Linked DNA regions of Homo sapiens: region 2 is linked to region 1. The links are contacts of gene promoters, found by promoter capture Hi-C in human tissues and cell types (Jung and others, 2019). All regions are on one chromosome and are shown on one strand. Each heading gives the region's core, a stretch centred on a gene start or on the middle of the fragment in contact. The rest is flanking DNA. Distances are from core to core; before and after follow the strand shown. Region 1 holds the start of CLTA (clathrin light chain A). Region 2 overlaps SHB (SH2 domain containing adaptor protein B).

Region 1 (2,589 bases), core at 68-2,567:
TGAATTTAGGGTAGACACTACTCCTATATGCCCCAGTAGTGCCCTATTCTCCCTTAGTTGGAATTTTTTAAGTGAATGAAAAGCCGTATTTCATTTCTTCTAGCTAAATTTCCTACTTCTTTGTATTATTAAGTAGGTCTTTTCCACTCATGATCCTAAGCATCACACACAGGTTAAGGCATCCAAAGGTCAAACTGCCATCCTACCTGCCCCATTTTTACTTGAGTTTGGCTGAGAACATTCTCTATTCACCTCTTCATCCCTCCCTGATTGGTTTAGGCTAATCTTGGGTTCTGCTTAGGCAATATTGCCTACCAAAGCTGTTCCCAGAGGAAGAGCTCCAGAAGTCCTAGCTGTAAATCAATCGCTCAACGATAGCAAACTCCTACCGCGCTTGGCAGTTCTTTCTCCAGACCTAGATCATCTTTCGAGTTCCCTACTCCCTCCTTCCTCCTCGTAATCCAACACTCTGTACACCTTAAGTGCTTAAATGCTGAACTGCATTGCTACTTTTGTTTGTATCTCTCAAAAACGATATTTCCATTCTTATTTTTTTCCGCCCTCCTTTTCTAATAACGAGTTCTGTGCTCGGCTCAGACTTATAAGCTTATAAGTCTGGAAAAACTGCGCCAATGCGGTTGCTTCAGAGACCGGACTAAAGGCACAGCAAATGCTTAATGAAAAGTTGCTGAATTGAACGGGCTTCTTCCGGCTCCGGAGCCTGCCACCCTACACTTGCTTTCTCGCTCCGCCCGCGCCCAGAAGCACTCAAACATGCTGAGAACCGAACAGGCTTCTCGAGCCTAGGTTTCTGAAAGACCGGGCCAGGGTCTCGTTTCCTGTTTGCACTGCTCCCTAACCTCCTAATTCAGCAAGGAGCACGAGTCACACAGAAGCTCTCGGACCCACTGTGGACCGAGTTTCCAGACAAGTCCTCTCGCCCCAAACGCGCCCGCACTCTCACCCGGACCCCCCGGCGGCTCGCCGTGCGGCTGGGGCCCGGGGGCGCCGCCGTCCAGGATGGCGAAGGCCTCGTCGTTCTCGATGCCCGCAATCTCGCTCTCTTGCTGCGCCAAGAAGGCCGCAGCCGGGTCTTCTTCGCCGGCGCCGGCCACTCCGTTCCCCAGCGCGGGACCGCCAGGGGCGCCGGCAGGGGCGCCGAACGGATCCAGCTCAGCCATGGCGGGCAACTGAACGGCACGGACACCAACGGTGAGACAAAAACCAACCGACCCACCGACACCACGCCCGGCAGCCACCGCTGTGGTGCCGACTGGGAGAGGAGGACAAGCGCCAGGAGGGAGACGGGTAAAGCGGAAGCCCTACCCGTGTATCCGGTCGGTCTAGGCGGTGTTGCAGAGCCGAAAAGGGAACAACCAATCAGAGGACAACAATGGTTCAGGAGCTACCCAATCAGCAAGTGGAGGGGCGGTCCCCCTAAAACAACTCGTGACTGGGGTAGGGCGGGAGGTGAGGGAGGTGAGCTGCGCGGGCCCCGGGAGGCGGAAGTGCTGCCTGATAGGGAGCGTCCTACCCACCCCGTCTGCTGGAGCTGGACTGACCAGGGACGGCCACCCCTGAGGGGACTCTAGTGCTGCACTGGGAGGTGAGGTGAAGTTAGGGCAGCGACGATTGGCCGATTACTGAAGAGGCATGCCACTTAGGCTTTCTGAACCTCAGTTTCCTCATTCGTAAAATAGAAACAAGAATCCTGCTCTTGCGCCCCCTCCCGGGATTATTAGAAGATTGAATCCTAAAAAAAAAGAAGAAGAAGATTGAATCCTTTTATGGATTTGAGGGTCCCTGGCTTTATAAATTTAAAATATTTAATTCTTTCAGCCAGCCTGGATTATTTGCTCCCTTAGAGCCCATAGATTTACTGTAATTGATTCAGTCCACTCCGATTTTTCTCGCCCATAAGTATTTTTATTTAAAAATGAATATATCTTATCTTCTTCAACGAAGCACTTTTGCAGCCATTACGTCTTTTCGGAGCTAGACAGAAGTTACTAAACCTGGAAAATTCCTTAAGGATCACTTGCTTCAAAGGGAGACACGGTGGCCCTGCTGTTCAAGGAGCGTCAGTGACCCAGAGAGTCAGTGACCAAGAGGAAACGCCTGTCTCCTGGGGACTTCCAAGATACTAGCTACAGTCTCTTATATTTACACCTTTCCTCCCTAAGGACAGCAGGAAAAAGAAAGTTCCGTGTTTCTTTTTAAATCAGGGAGATGTTAATAGCTACATGGCTCATTTTGTCTACACCACAGAAATAACAGTGGTTCCAGTTAATCATGCTCATGTTGAGGGGGAGTGCTTATGCAGGGGCCACCAGAAGACCCCTCTCCTTCACTACCACCACCACCACCCTAAGAAATGAAAAGCCAAAAAAAGAAACCAAAAAACCAGAGGTCAACAAGAAGCTTCCAGAGGTAGTCAGCAGGGGACAAGAAAGTGTTTTTATAAAAAACGCACATATCTTTGATGACAAAAAAAAAGGGATAGCTATGAAGGAAAAATGAAGCAAATAAAAATTATTTAAAGCATATATTTACTTAAAGCATAATTTTAAAGTCATTTAAAGTATGAAC
Region 2 (2,589 bases), core at 52-2,551, 1.9 Mb before region 1:
AGCTCTGTTCCGTGTGGTCTCTCCTCCTCCAGCACATGTTCATATGACGGCAGCAGGGTTCCAAGAAAAAGCAGGAGCGCATAAGGTCTCTTGAGGTTGGAAACTGGCATGGTGACCCTTCTGCTGCATTCTGTTGACTAAAGCAAATCATAAGGCCAGCCACAATTCAAGGAGAGAGGAGGAGCTGCAGTGTCCCATGGCAAAGGGCAGGGATACAGGCAAGCCATTAATTAGGGCCTTCGATGCCATCATCTACCTTATCCCCATATTCCGGATAAAGAAACTGAGGCTTAGAGAGGTTGATGACTTGCCTAATGTCACACAGCTGCAAAGTGATAGAGCAAGGATCACACCAGTGCAGTCTTGAGTTCAAAACCTATATGCTTCCTCTATTTTCCGTGGTTTCAATGGAAATAAGTAGTATGAGGCTTGGATATTTACTGGAATATATGTTACATGTCTCCTCCTCCCCTTTACTTAATGCTACTCTTCTTGCATCCCTCTGCTGTAATTTCTCCGCTTTCAGCCTTTGCTTTGGTGTCCCTAGAAGAGGCCCTAGAGCTGGCTTTTCTGTTTCTCTGTCTCCCATCTGCCTCAGAGTTCCAGAAATGAGATGTTAATGCAGCACTTGAGTTATTTTATAGAGAAATTCTGAGCACAGAGTTGGCACATCCCAAGGGACAGCTGCACAAAACGTGAGTCTTGTAACTGTCATGTCTTCTCATTCTAACACCAAGCATTCCTTCCCTTCAAGGATTTGCCGGGCTGTGTGTGCTCTGTTTGGAGGAAGAGACTGGCGGTACATTGGCCCTGATCAACAAGGAACTTAAGTTTCCTTGAAGGAGATCAGGTGACTGTCCTCTCTAATCTGACAATCTCAGAACATGACTGATTACCCCAGGGCTTAACCCCCATGACTTGACCCTATCCTCTCTTTGCCCCCAGAGCATTTCTGACCCATAAAAATTAGCTTTAAAAGTCAAATCTGAAACAGCTGTGGTTTCTTCTGATCAGTCAGCAAGGTCTAACTTGCCTGTGGTCAAGCCTTCCCCTGATTAGCTTAGCTTGTGCTGGGAGAGCCCAGAAGTGGTGGCCTGTGGGGAATGGGTAGGCCAGGCTTGGCCCTAGAAAATAAACTGGGACGTGTGACTTTCCAACAGAGCTCGCATGCTGGCTGGCTGACGGCAACACACCCTGTGGCTTTGTGAGGTTGGTTGATGGTGGTGGTAGGGGTGATGTATTTTCTATTTCTTTTTTTTTTTTTTTTTGAGACAGGATCTCACTCCTGTCCCCCATACTGGAGTGAGTGGCACGATTACAGCTCACTGCAGCCTCAACTTCCCAGGCTCAGGCGATTCTCCCACCTCAGCCTCTCAAGTAGCTGGGACTATAGTCACACGCCAGCACACCCAACTAATGTTTGTATTTTTTTATTGCCCAGGCTGATCTCAAACTCCTGGGCTCAAGTGATCCGTCTGCCTTGGCCTCCCAAAGTGCTGGGATTACAGGTGTGAGCCACTGTGCCCAGAAGGTTGTGCATTTTCCGCAGGACAAAGGTGGTGGTCGTCTCTGACTTCCTAGCTTTCATTTGGCCTGTGCTGACTGAGCAATTGCTATATGCAGGCCACCATCAGGAGCTGTGTGGATACAGGGATGAACCAGGGCCTGGATAGTGCCCGCCCCTGAAAAGCTTATCTTTTGGTTGAGGACACAGGAACCAAGGTTGAAACCCACATCTGTATGTCAGAATTTATCTGTAAATAAAGTGGTGTGGGTGAGCTAAAAGCTGTCTTGGCACAGAGACTGTTCTGGGCAGGGCCTTGATTTCATGGAGCCACAGGAGATGCAGGGTGAGGAGGAGGTATTTGAGTAAAAAAGGTACAATCACTTGAATTAAGGGAGTTTTCCACTACAGTAATATTAGCTAATACTTTTATTATACATACTCTGAGCTAGGTGCAGTTCTGTGTGCTTTGTATGTAACTTTACTCCTCACTACAGTCCTTTGAGGTAGCTACTACTACTGCTACTTCTATTTTCATTTTTACATATGAGGAAACCAAGGCACAGACAGGTTAAGTCACTTGTCTAAAGTCAGGTCGGTGGTTCATGCCTGTAATCCCAGCACTTCCTGTAATCCCAGCACATTGGGAGGCCAAGGTGGATCACCTAAGGTCGGGAGTTGGAGACCAGCCTGGCCAACATGGTGAAACACTGTCTCTATTAAAAATACAAAAATTAGCTCGGCGTGTTGGCACATGTCTGTAATCCCAGCTACTTGGGAGGCTGAGGTGGGAGAATTGCTTGAACCCGGGAGGCAGAGGTTGTAGTGAGCCGAGATCAGGCCACTGCACTCCAGCCTGGGCACCAAAGCGAGACACTATCTCAAAAAATAATAATAATAATAATAAAGTCAGACAGCCAGTAAGTGGCAGAGATGAGATGTGAAGCCAGATCTAGCATCTGTTTGTAACCACTGTGCCATACTACCTCAAGCTGCACAATCCCATGCCTGAATTTGCTTTATCATCTCTGCCTTATTTGTGGCTAGACTTACTCTTTGTAAAATGTCCCCTCTGTTGGCATGGT

The links. The method cuts DNA at HindIII sites, captures the fragments that hold promoters and counts their contacts. A contact is called where the count stands out against the background at its distance.
Region 2: a contact is called between a fragment that was not itself captured here and the fragment with the promoter of CLTA in region 1, in 1 of the 25 tissues and cell types used here (hippocampus).

Annotation. Positions count from the first base shown.
Region 1 is chr9:36,189,649-36,192,237 of GRCh38, reverse strand. CLTA (clathrin light chain A) reads right to left here and starts at 1,317. Exons shown (of 5, transcript NM_001833.4): 1 at 965-1,317. The coding sequence starts at 1,181. RefSeq lists enhancers at 1,122-1,341, 1,057-1,682. The HindIII fragment of the contact is 4,306 bases long and covers 1-2,589 here.
Region 2 is chr9:38,059,991-38,062,579 of GRCh38, reverse strand. The region is part of intron 1 of SHB (SH2 domain containing adaptor protein B); the gene reads left to right. Among named protein-coding and RNA genes, the nearest start is that of SHB, 7.9 kb to the left of the region's middle. RefSeq lists an enhancer at 2,487-2,589. The HindIII fragment of the contact is 7,557 bases long and covers 1-2,589 here.